Linked DNA regions of Homo sapiens: all the other regions are linked to region 5. The links are contacts of gene promoters, found by promoter capture Hi-C in blood cells and fetal thymus (Javierre and others, 2016). All regions are on one chromosome and are shown on one strand. Each heading gives the region's core, a stretch centred on a gene start or on the middle of the fragment in contact. The rest is flanking DNA. Distances are from core to core; before and after follow the strand shown. Region 1 holds the start of MIR1231 (microRNA 1231). Region 2 holds the start of TIMM17A (translocase of inner mitochondrial membrane 17A). Region 3 overlaps NAV1 (neuron navigator 1). Region 4 overlaps IPO9 (importin 9). Region 5 holds the start of CSRP1 (cysteine and glycine rich protein 1).

Region 1 (3,308 bases), core at 543-3,042, 300 kb before region 5:
CCAGCTACTCAGGAGGCTGCGACAGGAGAATTACTTAAGCCCAAGAGTTCAAGGCTGCAGTGAGCTGTGATCACGCCACTGCCCTCCAGCCTGGGTGGCAAGAGTGAGACCCTGTCTCTAAAAAAGTATATATATTCCACGAGAGGATGAACAACCTTTTTGAGTACAGGTATCCCTTTACCTTGAACACTTGGAAAACAGCTTCATCCAGCATCTTCCAGTCAACTTTTCCACTGACCTTGCTACAGCCCAGGAAGAATTCCTGCTGCTTCAAGTCCTGTAAGGCCAAGGAAGGAAAAGCTCTTGAGCTTCACTGCAGATGACTCCATGAACCGGGGTCCTAAAGGCCTTAGGAGTTGAGTTCTTTGGTTTTGGAGGTACCCAGGGTCCAGATTTTCTTGGATAAATGTAACAGTATTTGTTCATTCCCACTGTGGCTCTCCCTGAAGTTCCTTACCCCTTTGATGATGTGCTGCGGGGGCATCCTCACCACCACCCGGAGGGTCACTTCCTCCTTTGGACCACAAGTACTGATGCCATCCATGGGTGACAGGTCTGTGGGGATTGAAAAGAACCAACTGGTTTTAGGAGTACCCGCAGCCTTTCCTAAACTTTCCCATCATTATCCTTTCCAAAATAACTCTGTTTGCCACAGAGAAGGAATGGAGGTCCCAAACTCAAAAGTAGTTAAGGTTGAAGGACCATTACAACTCAGTGTCTTAGGACACTGGCATCTGCTTGGCTTCGGCATTGTTACCGCCCTGACCAAAGCAAGTGGAATGGTGTAACAGTGAAATAAGCCCTTTTCTTCCCTTCACCCTTATAGATTCTTCTCCCACACAGGTACCTGTGTCTGCAAGACTGGGGCCGAAGGAATGGGTGAGTGCCAGGCCTAGGGAGCGGCGTGGGGAAGATAATGCAGATGATCCAGGGACCTGCCCTGGAGTGGAGCCTGATGAGGGGCCTGGGGCTACCTTCAGTCGGTCATTCTCTGCTTTCAGCAGGTCCACCTCCAACTGTGGCAAGAACAGACAGGGTAGGGTGGCAGACTGGACAGACAGCAAGCCTTGGTCTTCCCTTTCCTGCAGCTGTCCGCCCAGACACTGACCTGCATGTTGTGCATGGTCTCCCGAAGCTGATCCAGTTGGTGGGCAGAGTTGAGGGCCTCCAAGCGGATGTCTGTAAGCTTCATTTCCTTCTCCCATAGCTCAGAGCGCAGCTCCGATACCTCCTTCTTCTCTGGCTCCTCCTCCTCATTTGCATGGAACAGCCTAGTGTGGGGGGCTGGGTGAGCAGGGCCCCTGTAAGATAGCAAGAGTCAAGCCAGGCTACATGAAGAAGCACTAGAGTTACTAGAGAATATTGAGAGGCATGGTTGGTGGTCTTGGCTTCTCCTGCCCATTGATATTCAATCAGCATGAGAAGAAAGGTCCATCTGTTGGTCTCATATGCCCAGGGAGAGGTCAGTAATAAGTACTGCTTGTCTAAGGTCTAATGGCCTCCTGTCAACTCTAGCCCACAGCTTACACTGGTAACAGGCTGGGTGGCAGGGAGCCAAAGAGCACTTACTCGGTGACATCAGTGCCCACGGAGGACGAGGTGGAGGACTTGATGGAGGGTGAAGCAGTCTCTGTAGAACCATGCTGTAGTTTGGGGGATGAGGGGGCTGAAGAGTCGGGTGTAGCAATCTCCTCTATATCCGAGTATGAGGAAGCTGACTTGGGCCCCTTTTTTATACTGAACGCTTTGTTGAAGGAACTTCGAAGCTAGAAAAAAGCAGATCCAGGTAGAGGGACATTAGGACTCCACTACTGGGATGGGGGAGGACTGGATTGAGACTTCTGAGACAGAGAGAGCTGGAGGCGGGGGATTTACTTTAATTAAGCCACCCTCTATAACACTTCACTTGATTCATAGAATACGGACAGAAGAGTTGCCTAGAAATTAGGACCGTGGAGGCAGAGGTTGCAGTGAGCTGAGATCGAGCCACTGCACTCCAGCCTGGCAACAGAGTGAGACTCCATCTCAAAAGAAAGAAAGAAAGAAAGGAAATTAGGACCAAGAGAAAGAACAGAATCTTCTAGCTTGCTGATGTTGTAGGCTATGGGAACTTCCTGGGTGTTCTCTTGCTCATAGGGGGAATTGTGCCCCTGATGGGGACAGAGAGAAGGTCCCAGAGGTCACATGGTATACAGCTCAGTGATCCAATCCCACCTTCTGCAGCAGAACAATAACCGCTCAGTCTAGAACCTGGCTCACTGTGGGCCTCAGAGGCCACCTCATGATGCCTCTGACTAGGGCTCATCAGCCCAGAATCTGTTCATCTAGTCATCTGTCAACCAGAAACTGACAATATGATTCTGTGGAGAACACGAGAAGGCAGTGGGCTCAAGCTTCTTTTAGTATTTCTTGTGCCCAGGACATCACAGAATGGTTAAAACAGCCAGACAGCATTTTCTATGATTTCCAATGTCCTAGAAGAAGGGCTATTTCCCAGCATTTCTTTAGAGTACTTGGGGCATTATAATCTGACCATAGCTTGTTTGATCTTGGTGTTGATGAGCTTGGGTGTTAGGGATGTGAGCTAGAGATGCAAACCAGGGTCCTGTCCCATACCCATCCACATGCATCCATACAGCATGCACACACCACACACCACACACACACATACACACACACACACAGGGACACAGATATGAAATGGCAGCAAGAGGCAGAGAGTAAAGGAGGGGTCAAAGGTTATAGGGGACAAAGGCAAACCAGATCTTTGGGACGGTGAGAAAAAAGAAGGAAAAATTTGAGGGTACGCTTTCTAAGCGTCTCTCCTGGAACATAGGAAGGCCGTCAGGTGATGGATGGAGCTGGTGGGTGGTGCATCTTGGGGTTTCCACCAGGCAAGATGTAAAGGAGGACCAACTTGGCTGTGGTGGAGACATGAATGAGTGAGTATGTGTGCAGCTGGCTGGCTCCAGGTGACTTCTTATCACTGAGCAGTCAGGGCTCAAAAGTACCATAAAGCTCATTTCTCTGTAGAGATGAAGAACCAAGCCTGAAAAGGCCAGAGAGTTGACTTGCTTGAAATTGCATAATTGACGTAAGACTTAGGACTAGAACTCAGGCTTCCTAATTTTCAATCCAGTGAAGTTTTCTCCATAGCACTGCCTCATGGGATGCTGTGTGTGTGTGTGTAAAGAGATCCTATGACAAGCTGCCTGAAGCATATGCCCCTAAGATCAATAAGATCCTAAGTGAGAATATGTGTAGTTCAGTATTCCCAAAGCCAGAACTGTTCCGAGATGTTTGGTGTT
Region 2 (3,016 bases), core at 286-2,785, 450 kb before region 5:
CTAAGAGAAAGCAAAGGGGCTACCTAATGATTTAGTAAATGAAAACCCATTATTTTTCTAAGTTGTTTTTTTTTTTTTTTTTGAGATGGAGTCTCACTCTGTCACCCAGGCTGGAGTGCAATGGCGCAATCTTGGCTCACTGCAACCTCCGTCTCCTGGGTTCAAGTGATTCTCCTGCCTCAGCCTCCCAAGTAGCTGGGACTACAGGCGCGTGCCACCACGCCCGGCTAATATTTGTATTTTTAGTAGAGACGGGGTTTCACCATACTGGCCAGGCTGGTCTTGAACTCCTGACCTCGTGATCCGCCTCGGCCTTCCAAAGTGCTGGGATTACAGGCGTGAGCCACCACACCCGGCCTTATTTTTCTAAGATCTTTAACTCAACATAGTTAAATATTTTAACTCTCTGCTAACCTGTGTCATTATAGTACATCAAACAGCTATTTACAGTGTGCTGAGTCCTACATATCTGAGCACAATCCAGAATGGAGGATAACTGCTTTGAAGAAGATAAGTTTGAAGAGCCAGGAGACCCTAAAACTTATATTTTGTATGCCATTTATGGGAGAGGGGAACATAAAACATGCAACAAGGCTAGGATACCAGAGTAGTAATTTAAGGTCCTGGGCACTTTCACAAATTGAGGACATCTTGGTTGTTGCTCTTACACAATAAAACAAATGATTAACCGAAATATCAAGATTTGATTTTTTACCTATGACCCTAGAAACTTTAAACTCTGGCAACCTGAGACTTCTGACAGCAATTACATCGTTTTATAATTATCTATGTGTCTGGTTTATTCATACTCAATAAACGCTGGATGTAACAATGAATTTCTGTCCATGGCTTTTCAGAGAACACATGCTATTACCTCTTCCTATTTCCCAGGTAATTTTTGTCCCCCTCTACCCTCAAGAAAGAATTCCAAGAAGGAAAACAAGGCCCCACGCAATAAAGAAGCTTATCCAGACCCCTTGGCTAAAATCTATGTTCCATTCATTTAAAATGCTTCACTCTGTGGACACATATCATGATACAAGTAAAACCTCAAGAATGACACTCCCTCAAATGCCTATTCTTCAGTTCCTCAACGCAGGAACTGAGCAAGGCGAGACGGAGGGACGCGCCCAAGGTCACCTCGACGAACAGGGGGGATTATAACTGGCCCCGCATAAAGTCGATTACGCCCTGCGTTGGGAGGAGGTTCCGAGGTTCTATCAAACTCAAGTCTGGACCTCCTTACCATCCATCACAAGGTCACACGGGTGCTGGGTTGGGAGAGGGAGGCTCACGCGGCCGGGGAGGTACTAAGTACAGGGCTAAGAAGCCGACTGGCCGCGAAAGACCGCATTGCCCAGTTACCAGGCCCAAGTCGACGAGGCTGCGGTTGAGTCTGGCTTGCACCTTGGGAGCCTGGACAAGGGAGAAGGAGGGCAGTGGGCAGGGGGGCAAGAGAAATGCAAAGACAGCGGTGAAGCTCACCAAGGCTCTCGCGCGTACTCCTCCATCTTGACTCCAATGCCGCGAGTGATGCCGGGCAAGCTGGGCGGAGCCTGACCCCAGAGGCGGAAGTGATCCCGAGAGGAGGGCGTTAAGGTCTATGAGCATTGGTTCACCATTTCCCGCTGCAGCCAATGGGAGCCAGGACTCCTGTGGCCAGCGTGTGGTCGGGGCATTGGCCGCGGCGTGGCGAGACTGGCCCTGCCCACGTCCTCAAAGGCCGCGAGTCCCGGCTGTGTGGGCGGGGGGCTACCAATGACGGAGTCACACTACCCGGTCACCAGAGGTTCCGTGGACTGAAATCAACGCGATACTGCCTAAATACGCTTCTTTCTTTCCCTTCCCTTCCGCCTTCCCTTCCCCCTTCCCTTCCCCCTTTCCTTTTCTTCTCTCCTTCCATCCTTTTTCTTTCTTTCTTTTTCTTTTCTTCTTCTTTTTTTTTTTGAGACAGAGTCTGGCTCTGTCGCCCAGGCTGGAGTGCAGCGGCGAGATCTCGGCTCACTGCAACCTCCGCCTCCCGAGTTCAAGCGATTCTCCTGCCTTAGCCTCCTGAGTAGCTGGGACTACAGGCGGGCGCCACCAGGTCCGGCTAATTTTTATGTTTTTTTAGTAGAGACGGGGTTTCGCCATGTTGATCAGGCTGGACTCGAACTCCTGACCTCGTGATCCGCCCACCTCGGCCTCCCAGAGTGCTAGAATTACAGGCGTGAGCCGCCGCACCCGGCCTCTTTCTTTCTCTTCTTTTCTTTTCTTTCCTTTCTCTCTCTTCTTTTTCTTTCTTTCTTTTTTGGTACTTTTGCTGTCAAATGTGGATTAATGCTATCTTATTCGTCACTTACTGTGAAGCTGTTACCAAATACACGTAGCTCCTTTAGGGCAAACAGTGTCTCAGTGATTTATAATAACCACAGTGCCTGGAATGTAGTAGATGCTCAATAAATGTTTGTGAACTGGAACTGTTTGGGCCATCTGGAGAGCCATGACCAATTTGGAGCCCTCGATTTCAGGGACATTGACACCAGAGCCTCTCACAGGCCTCTCCACTAATGATCACCAGAAGGTGTGAAGATGTTTGGCTCGGAGAAGAGGGGACTTATGGGGACCAGGCCGGGCGTGGTGACACGTGCCTGTAGCCCTGACTGTTCGGGAGACTGAGGCGGGAAGATAGCTTGAGCCCAGGAGATCTACCCCGCAGGGAGCTGTGATCATGCCACTGCACTCTAGTGACAGAGTGAGACACTGTCAAAAAAAAAAAAAAAAAAAGGTTGGGACCCATGGAGCTTTTAGTTTACTGTCAACAAAATCCCAATCATGTGATGGCTGTTAAAGTGCTCCTCTCCATTCTGTACGTTTGTAATTAACTTTAAAAATATGTATATATTTATTTTACGGAAAAGTCAATGTCATAAATAATGGAAGAGGCCGGGCGCAGTGGCACACGCCTGTAATCCCAGCACTTTGGGAGGCCGAGGCGGGCGGATCACGAGGTCAGGAGTTCGAGACCAGCCTGACC
Region 3 (3,023 bases), core at 79-2,578, 280 kb before region 5:
TCAGTACTAACACCCAGATCACCACCAACAATCAGATGGCCCTCCCTGATGCTCATCTTTGGAACATTTTTGAAAGAGAAATGAGATGCCTAATTATTTGTAAGGATTTATTAAGAGCTACTATTATGTCCTGTTTTCTTTTCATATATTTGAGAGACTGTGGGGAGGAAAGACTATGGCTAGAATGAGGAGGAGAGAAGCTGTGGTTTTCAGAGCATCCTGAGGGATGCCATTTAACCCTTCCATGCTCAATTTCCCTCCCCCAGCCCCAGTGATGGATGCTCCATCCCAATGCCCCAGTGCTAGATGTGCCACCCAAGGTTTCTGGGTCCCCAGACCCTTCAAAGGGATGGGGAGAAAAAACTGAAATGGCCCAACTTGATGTTCTGTGAATCATATATGTGTGTGGTGGTAGGAGTGGTGGGAGTGGAGGTGGTGGGTGAGGGGACCCAGCAGAGCTGGAATGAGCGTGAACCGCGCTAGCATGAAGTCTCACCATCGTCCGTGGGGTCTCGGAAGGATCCTGACCGAATCATTCCCTTGGGTCTCTCGGCCAGGGACAGGGTGCTCCCCATTTGGGAGCCGCTGTACAGCTCGAAGGCCGCCTCGTGGGTGGGGATGCTGTTGGAGCGGGTGATTCTTGGCGTGGTGGCCGCAGTGGGACTCACTGGAAGGACAGAGGGAAGGGGGACAGGAGAGGGAGCAGGAGGGCAGGAAAAGAGGCAGGGTCATCAGCTCTCCGGGCCCTTGGGGGATGGAGCACCGGGAGCATGAGAGGCAAATGGGGAGAGGGCAGGAGAGGAAGGGGCAGGTGCGGTGGTGGGAGTGTGCAAGCAGCTGGTGGTTAGGAGCGGGGTCCCTCCTGGGGAGATCAAGCCCTAATGGAGAAGGACCCTGCTGTCTGGAATAAAGACCTTCCCTCAACCCTGCCTGCCTCAGAGTTGTTGCTTTTGAAGGTTAGGCTGGGGGCCTGGCAGCTTTTCTGAGACCTTCACATCACTCGGATGTGCTGATGAAAATGAGATGCTGTGGTTCTCTAAAACACAACTGCCAGCTCAGGAGGACTGAAAATTCAAACCAAGACCCAGATCTGAATGATGAAAAAGCACCAGCTAGAGAAGGGGGCTGGGCTACGGGATCCCGTTGCCCTGGCATTGTGGAAGGGCGTGAGAATCTCCCCACAAAGTAGTGTCACTCTGAGTGACTGGGTTGGCGCTAAAGCATCAAGAAACATGGCCCTCTTTGCCTAGCATTGCCCCGGCTTGAAGGTCAGATGGACAGAGCAGGTGAAAGTGTCAGGTAAGGCTTGTGGAATGTGCTTTGAAGCTGGGTTCAGCTGAATCCCGTTAACCTGCAGATGCCTTACCCCTTTGCCCATTGCTGGGATTACAGCCTTTCAGGGTTTCATACCCACAAGGAGCTCCCTTGTCTATTCTTCTGCCTCCATACAGGCAGGTGGATGTCTAATCTGTCCATAAAGACCTGTGCAGAAGAAGATGGCACACCTCTCTGTTGACCTTTTCAAATTCCTGAGGTAATTATTGCTTAGCCCAGCCCCTCATTCTGCAGCATAAATGCAATTCTTCTTATTTGGTCTTCAATGGAGATAGAGAACAAGCTGGCCCCATCCTCCATTTAGTAGCCCTTCAGAGGGCAGATGATCCTGTCTGAACAATGGTTCTTTTCCCTAGGCCAAGTGATCCCAATTCCTAGTCTTTCCTCAAATTCCCCACAGTCACTGCATGGGTGTGTTACAGGTCCTTGTCTTTTATTAACTGATTTCTTTTACTCAGCTGAAAGAAGAGATGGATTTAAAGAGATGCAGCAAGCAGATAACAGGCCTATCCCAGGCACTATTCCTGAATGGATTCCTAGTAGGCCAATCATGGCGTACTGCTTCACAGAACCGGAGCTGGTGTGCTTCTGTGCTAGGCCAGACCCTCCACCTGATGCTTCCTCTCCTCCCTGTCTCTAAGTCACTTCCTTATTTCCTAGCTCTCCTTTCTCCCTAGGCTTTAGGAAGGGGGTGGCCAGGACACATCTGAGTCAGCCCTGCCTTCAGCGTTAGGATGGCCTGGGCTCAGCCAGAGCAGTTGAGGAATCTGGACTTGGCTGAGTTTGGAGGCAGATCTCGTCCTTGGCAATCAACAACCTTTCCCTCCTTCCTCCCCGTCGGCCTGACATTTCAGTATTGCCCTCTCATTAGCTGGCCCTAGTAGTACTGGGTGTGGTGGCTCCTTTCCGGCAGTTCAATGTGCCTGCTCTTGCACTGGTCTGATCTCTGGGCTTTGGGTTACAGCTTTTCCATGCCACCATTCAGGCTCTCTGATGCTAAAAGGACCCTACAACTTGTGCCTAGGGGCAACTTTTCAGTTTAGGATCTCAAAGTACTCTACCTTCAATCTTACTTTGGGTGGATAAACTGAGGCACCATGAAACAACCCAATACAGCATGAGTCAAACATGAGATGAAACCCAAAGCCCACCTGCCTTGCCTCACCCTGCAGGGTGACCCCTGCTTCACCCCATGCCACAGTGAGTGACTGAAAACACTAACCTATGTTGGTAAGTTGGCCCTTTGCACTCAGAGACATGGGAAGTGCAGGGGGAGAAGGCAGCTCTGACTGGTCATCGGATTCAGGCAGCCCACCAATGGTATGGGAATGTCGCCTCTCCTTGGTCTCCTCCTGGGACTGAAGCTGGTACCTGTAGGAAGCAGCAGAAGAACTCAGTCTGGGACTAGCAAGTGCGGTCAGAGGTTTAGTTGGTGCGGAGGGTGTCTGAACTAGGCTGGAGCCAGGAGATTCTGAAAGCAGGACATGGAAAAGAGGGAGTGGTCAGGGCTGCCCAAGGAGGGAGTAAGAGGTGGCGACTCAGCCTCCTCTCCCAGACCATCCAGAGGGTGTGGAAGGACTAGCAGGTATTCCCGTAAGGGTTCCTGAGCTGGGGGCAGAAGTGATGGAGGAGGCATTAGAACTTCTCCTCAGAAGTTCAGGACAGAGACTTATGATTCCACATGTGGG
Region 4 (3,115 bases), core at 280-2,779, 360 kb before region 5:
TGAAAGAACAGGAGAGATCCTAAATCTGCAAGAGGTACACTTTGTATGGCTTCATTAAAGTAGGGACTAGTCATTAACAGCTACTCATAAAACAAAATGTGGCTTTTTCTAGAGAAAAATCTTTAAAGTCTTTATTCTTGTGAAACCTACGTTATAAAACCAAATGCTTAAAAAAAAAAAAAAAGCCCAACTGATACTTTAAGAAGACATGAAAGCTGCAAAAATTGCCAAAACACTGGCTTTGATGCATGAGAGAAATCATACATATCTCCTATGGGGTAGCCACGGTAGACATGAAGAACTCTCAAAGCTACTTCTGGGGCAAAAGGCAAAACTCCTAAAAAGCAGAGCCTTATGAAGAAAGGGAACTTTAGCTCAATCTTCTTTATCTATAGAACAAAACATCCTCCTCTATTTAGTATGGAAAAATATAGGCAATGTGCATTAAAGTATACCTTAAAAGATCACTGCAGCATTGTTTGTAATAGAAAAAAATTGGGAATACCCTAGATGTCCATTAACAGAATGGGTAAATTATGATATACCCATTTTATGGAACATTAGTAATGGCTGAAAAGAATGAGATATATCCAAGAACACAATGTGGAAAGCTCCTCAGTACACATTTTTCAGTGAAAAAGCTATCAAATAACATGTTCAGTATATCACATTATATAAATAATCCTTATCCTGTACATCTTTCTGAGCTTCAATATTGGAGCTCTCTCTTTAAAAAAAGAATCCTTAATATTTTACTAGTAATAAGGTATTAATAAATACATTCACTACAGGAAAAAAAAAACTTAAAATGCAGAAAAGTAATAATGAAAACACCTGTAATTCCACTACCTAAACACTCAACATTTTGATGTATTTTTTTTTAAAACATACCTATCTATACATACATGCTTTTCTAAAAGAAAAATCAAAACTTGGGATCATATTCTATGGATTTTTTGGGAAAAGTATCTTTTCATTTATTATAATGTAAGCTCTTTCCCATGGTTTCAGATATTCCTTTTAAGCTTGATTTTTAATGGCTGCACAGTATTTCATTTTATGGATATAATTAACTAATGTCTTTTTATAATTTCCAAATTTTTACTACTGTAAAAAATATCTAGTGAATACCTTTGTTTATAAACTTTTCCATATATCTTTCTTTAGTATCTCCTTTTCTAAATTATAGTCCTAGCCCTTTTCTTTTAGGAGGCTTTTCATTTGCCCAATTTCCTATTCTATCATCAAAGTTCTGAATTATGTCTCTTGCTTATTAGCCCTTTATTTATTATCTTTATCCCTAAGTCCTTACTAGAGAGTAAGTGTTACAGAAATAGGTACTCTATTTTTTAATGCTGCTACATTTACAGCACAATTCTATTTTTTGCTAATTGAAAGCCAGATTCTTTGCTTACGATGTTAAAACCATAGCTTCATAGCTAAGACCAGACCTAGGGAATCTTTCATTTAAATTCACCAGCCACCACCTTTTCTTTGGTGCCCCTCATAATACATCCTCCCTGGCAGCATACCATTACTGTACTTTAGGAAAATGGCGATGGTGAAGGGGCAGATTTTGCTTTCCATGCTTGCTGTGAATTCGGGGTCTACTGTACAAACGATGCACAGGGTCTCCATCACCAGGTTGAGGACCTCTGAGCTGAACTGGGCTGCTAGGTGAATTAAGCCATCAAGGATGCTGGGGAGGAAGGGCTGGAGCACGTGGGTACTCTCTGAGACTTTCAGTTGGTCACAATAACTAGAGAGAGATAGATAAGCAAGAATTATTAAAAAAAATTCAATTCCTGGTTTTCCCAATCAATCTCACATATTATAGCATTTGTATGTGTAGCTTTATAAAGCTAATTCTAAAGTTAGGTTTAAGTTTCTACTTCTTTCTGGATGTATTATATAAACATCAACACCACCATTTCTATGTTCTGTAATTTATTTCTTTGACTTTTGCTATTTTCTTTAAAAACTTCTGCTTTTTTTCTTGAGGTTTTTTTTTTTTGCATCCTGAAACAAGCTTAATTTATATAAACATTTTATGTTTCACTTTCAAAATCAGCCTATTAGCTGTAGGATTTAAAGTTCCCTCTATAGTTTTACTGTATTAGCCTCTTTTCAATCAACAAATATTTACTGAATGTTGCTTATCATGTCCAATATGATACAATTGTTAAAAATACATTGTCTAGGACCAGGCACGGTGGCTCACACCTGTGATCCCAGCACTTTGGGGGGCCAAGGCAGGTGGCCCAGTTGTTCTCTTCGAACTTGAGACAGAGGTACTTCAGAAGAAAGTCATATTATGTCAGGCAGTATAGGAAGCCACAGGATATATATATAATATTTTCGTGGGACATCAGTTTCCCCTGGAGACTTCAGGGTAAAGAGAAGATTAGGTGTTAGGAGTAACACAAGTTAAAGAAACACCGACTTCCAAAATAAAGTCCAACCTCTTTCAGCATGGCATTTAAGATCCAGCATGATGTAGATAGATGATGCAAACTCTGTAATCTACCATACGGTACAGTTTCAAGTTCATTAGAGGGGCAAAGTAACTATAAACCCTTAGAATAGAAGTGGGAAATGGAGCGAACTCCTGACCTCAGGTGATCCACTTGCCTTGGCCCCACAAAGTGCTGGGATCACAGGTGTGAGCCACCGTGTCTGGTCCTAGACAATGTATTTTTAACAACTGTATCATATTGGACATGATAAGCAACATTCAGTAAATATTTGTTGATTGAAATGAGGCGAATACAGTCTGACATAAATTTGAGTTGAAAAATGTGAAACAAGTATAATTATTTGTCAATCAGTATCTTGTTTCAGAGATTATTTAAGGGAGTTTGCAATGATACATAAACTATGACATGAAGGAATAAATTAAAACTGGGGCTAAAGAAAAAAAGAAAAGCAACGGTGGAATGCTGATCATTAAAAGGTTACTAGTGACATTAGAAAAGACAGCTGCAGGCCGGGCGCGGTGGCTCATGTCTGTAATCCCAGCACTTTGGGAGGTGGGGGCGAGCGGATCACCCGAGGTCAGGAGTTTGAAACCAGCCTGACCAACATGGAAAAACCCTGTCTCTACTAAAAATACAAA
Region 5 (3,133 bases), core at 377-2,876:
ACTGATGGTGGTTCTGCAGTTTAATGGACCTGTTTAACTATTGCTTAGTCAGTGCAGCCGTGACCAGAAATTCTTCTGGTTTCTCCTCCTTCATCTTGGTTGGGTCAGATGAAGATGGCCCAATCTGCAAGAAACACTGGTTGTGTGCTTCTAGACATTTTAATCTTGGAGGGCCTTGTTTATAGGATGGACCTGGCCAAAGGAAAGATGTTACTTATGGTAGAAAGCAAGAAAAACCTAGATAAACACTTTTTTTTTTGAGAAACACTCTTGCTCTGTCGCCCAGGCTGGAGTGCAGTGGTGCAATCTTGGCTCACTGCAACCTCTGCCTCCTGAGTTCAAGTGATCCTTCCACCTCAGCCTCTCGAGTAGCTTGGATTACAGGCACACACCACCACGCCTGGCTAATTTTTTTAATTTTTTTGTAGAAACAGGGTTTCACCAGGTCTCGAACTCCTGGGTTTAAGCAATCTGCCTGCCTCGGCCTCCCAAAGTGTTGGGATTACAGGCGTGAGCCACAGTGCCTGGCCAAATACTTCATTTTCTAGATCATAAGATGCTTAACTTTATTCCTGGCAAAAAGTTGATTCAGCAAACCAGGGCTTTAAGTGAAGCCGGTTGGGGCCTGAACCCTTGACACCTGCCCAGGGTGGAAGACATAGCAGCTGCATCTATGGGCCACCTGGGGTGTAGGGTGACCAGCTGGAGGCTGTGAGCTTCTCTGCTCCCTGAAATGCCTGCACGGGGCACTCAGGAAGGGCTGGGGACTGGGTGAGGAGGTGTGGACAGAATGTCCCCTGGAAACTGCCCCAGGGGCAGCTTGAGTGGCCTGAGCCTGTGTCTGTCCTACTGAAGGTTGGAGCCCCAGAGAAAAGCCTCTATGGAGGCACCCACTTTTCAGAACTGCTGCTTTTGCGGGAGAACACCTTTTTCCAGGTGTTGTCCTTAGGGTAGCAGGGAAGACTGGGAAAAACTGAGGGGCAAGAGCTGTTGGAGGGGGGAGTTACATTTATTGAGTGTCTATTACATGCCGGGTGCTGCTGAAGGTCTGCGGGTCCTACCGGATCTCCTTTTAGCCCCTCACATCCCTGTAGATTACACGCCGTTCACAGATGACCCTGAACCCAGAAGGGCTGTCTAGGCCCAGGGCCCAGCTAGTGAGTGGATGGGCAGAATCAGACCTGCCCTGGAAGGGTCTGTCTTACCCTGGCGCCCAAAATGTGTCCCTCACCCTCTGCCACCAGGACAAGTAAATTCGAGACACCCTTTCGTTAGGGGCTCAAGTTTATCATGGGTCTGACCTCTAAGGTCATATCTCCGCCTTCTCACCTGACAGACAGGAAACTCCTGAAATGCCCCTCGCACGTGCAAGACGTTTTCCGCGGTGGCGGCGACAGGGCGCACAGTGGGACCGCAGCACGAGCTCGGAGCACCCCCAGAGTCGGCGACTCCTGCCCCCGCCCCTGCCGGCCGGCCTTCCCGGGGCCTAGGAGGGCAGCACCGCCGGGCTTCGCGCCATGACATCAGCCCTGGAGTGGTGCAGTGTGCAAAGCCCACTGGTTGGCGTGGCCCGGGACACGCCTTCCGCGGAGCGGAACAAAACGGCGCGCAGGCCGGGCGCACCCAGCCGCCACTTCCGAGAGCGCCTGCCGCCCCTGCGCCGCCGAGCCAGCTGCCAGGTGAGTGCGCCCTGAGTCGCGCGGCTCTGCCCGCCGCGGAGGGGCGCCTGGGCACGCACTCAGCGCCTCCCGGTCTTGCCAGCCCCGCCGCAGCCCCGGGGCTGTCGCAGGCGGGGAACTGTGAGAAGTGACCGCAGTTAGCCCGGGCAGTGCTGCTCTTTTCTGGAGGCACTAGGTCCGTCCCCATCCCGGGCCTTCCTGGGCTTCCTGGACACAGTTGACTTCCGCGTGTGCGTGACCCAGGGCGACCCGGCTCCCCGCAACCGCCTGCAAGTCGGGCAGAACAATCGGCGATTCTGCGCGCCACTGACGCTCATTGTATGGCAGAGAGATGAGGGCATCCGTGCCACCCCCTCCCTCACCCTCCTGCTGGGGAGAAAATGCCCGCGGGCGGGGTGGGGCAAACATCTGGGCCTGACCTTGGACATCTGTGTCCCTGAGCGCAGGTGTGAGTTTTCCCTCTTGTGAAATAACTGCATGGAAACCTCTCCACTCCAAATCTTGGTGCTAGGTGGTGATGGTTACTGAAACCTGAAAGAGCCTGCAGTCAGTGTTTTGTGGCCTCAGTCCTTGAAAGCTGGGAAGTGATAAAGGGGCTGGTATTGAGCACATTTAAAGCAAATCACAATGTGTTAGCTAACAATCAGCCCTCTGAGGCAGGTATTGTATCTACTGGTACAGACTAGAGAATATTTTGCATGCTTCTGGTTCTGGTGCTGTTGTGAACTAACCAGGACCCAGGAATCGGCTGGAGCAATAGTGGGCTCAGGCTCTGCCTAGAGCCCTGGGCTCCAGCCACCCACCAGCTGCTCCCTGAGAGTGAATGAATGGGCAGGCTCTCCCCACGCTGGGATACTATCACAGTGGCACCGAGGAAATCCACTGGGCCCTGGTAGAAAGTATATCAGTATATCATGAAGAGGTGGCTTGGAGTCTTGGTGGGATTGTTTGGAAGGCAGAGTTTTGACTCTTGGATTTGCCACTTAACGCGCAGGTTTCCTTGGACAAACTATTTAACTTCTCAATGTCTCAGTTTCTTTCAGGGATGCTACTTGGGGAGCATATTACACAGAACCTCCAACACAGGAGTGATCTCTCAGTTACTGTCTTTCTTGTCCTCCCCTCATCCCTTGCCTTCCTCCCAGAAGCTAAGGAGGCTGGAGGTGCTGGTTGTCTCCCTCTGTCCTCTCAGACTGCATGTTGGGGATTTTCCCCAGGTGGGATTTGGGGATGGGTACTGAGCCTCCCCTCAACTGCTCTCACTCAACTGCTGCCTCCTGACTCTCCAGCTGGTTTCTGGCTACCTCTTTTGAGAGAGACTGTCCTCAGCCCTCAGCTGCTGGAGGGCAGCTTTTACCCATTGTTTCCTAAATCCAGCCTCCTCCTGCTCACGGTCTTCCAGTGAATGACTCTTTGCCTTGGAGAGGATATCCGGGGCGGAGGCAGTCAGACGA

What was found. The method cuts DNA at HindIII sites, captures the fragments that hold promoters and counts their contacts. A CHiCAGO score of 5 or more calls a contact.
Region 1: a contact is called between a fragment that was not itself captured here and the fragment with the promoter of CSRP1 in region 5, in 4 of 17 cell types (monocytes, endothelial precursors, naive CD8 T cells and 1 more). The highest score is 5.9, in monocytes.
Region 2: a contact is called between the fragment with the promoter of TIMM17A here and the fragment with the promoter of CSRP1 in region 5, in 1 of 17 cell types (erythroblasts). The highest score is 5.1, in erythroblasts.
Region 3: a fragment that was not itself captured here is called in contact with the fragment with the promoter of CSRP1 in region 5 in 4 of 17 cell types (monocytes, M1 macrophages, M0 macrophages and 1 more); the score reaches 8.2 in monocytes.
Region 4: a contact is called between a fragment that was not itself captured here and the fragment with the promoter of CSRP1 in region 5, in 3 of 17 cell types (M1 macrophages, erythroblasts and megakaryocytes). The highest score is 5.9, in M1 macrophages.

What each region holds. Positions count from the first base shown.
Region 1 is chr1:201,806,411-201,809,718 of GRCh38, reverse strand. It overlaps NAV1 (neuron navigator 1), which reads right to left. Exons shown (of 34, transcript NM_001389617.1): 22 at 1,570-1,766; 23 at 1,109-1,301; 24 at 848-1,016; 25 at 458-555; 26 at 182-277. All of the region lies in intron 2 of IPO9-AS1 (IPO9 antisense RNA 1), which reads left to right. MIR1231 (microRNA 1231) reads right to left here and starts at 1,108; the gene lies at 1,017-1,108. The HindIII fragment of the contact is 1,207 bases long and covers 1,189-2,395 here.
Region 2 is chr1:201,954,022-201,957,037 of GRCh38, reverse strand. TIMM17A (translocase of inner mitochondrial membrane 17A) reads right to left here and starts at 1,535. Exons shown (of 6, transcript NM_006335.3): 1 at 1,486-1,535. The coding sequence starts at 1,511. RefSeq lists an enhancer at 1,257-1,546. The HindIII fragment of the contact is 2,275 bases long and covers 966-3,016 here.
Region 3 is chr1:201,786,112-201,789,134 of GRCh38, reverse strand. It overlaps NAV1 (neuron navigator 1), which reads right to left. Exons shown (of 34, transcript NM_001389617.1): 13 at 2,558-2,706; 14 at 497-667. All of the region lies in intron 2 of IPO9-AS1 (IPO9 antisense RNA 1), which reads left to right. Among named protein-coding and RNA genes, the nearest start is that of MIR1231, 21 kb to the left of the region's middle. RefSeq lists an enhancer at 571-1,071. The HindIII fragment of the contact is 4,587 bases long and covers 1-3,023 here.
Region 4 is chr1:201,865,377-201,868,491 of GRCh38, reverse strand. IPO9 (importin 9) reads right to left here. Exons shown (of 24, transcript NM_018085.5): 15 at 1,533-1,759. Among named protein-coding and RNA genes, the nearest start is that of MIR6739, 3.6 kb to the right of the region's middle. The HindIII fragment of the contact is 1,004 bases long and covers 1,028-2,031 here.
Region 5 is chr1:201,505,616-201,508,748 of GRCh38, reverse strand. CSRP1 (cysteine and glycine rich protein 1) reads left to right here and starts at 1,626. Exons shown (of 6, transcript NM_004078.3): 1 at 1,626-1,679. It overlaps CSRP1-AS1 (CSRP1 antisense RNA 1), which reads right to left and starts at 1,536. Exons shown (of 2, transcript NR_160747.1): 1 at 1,330-1,536. RefSeq lists a silencer at 1,295-1,924. The HindIII fragment of the contact is 16,293 bases long and covers 1-3,133 here.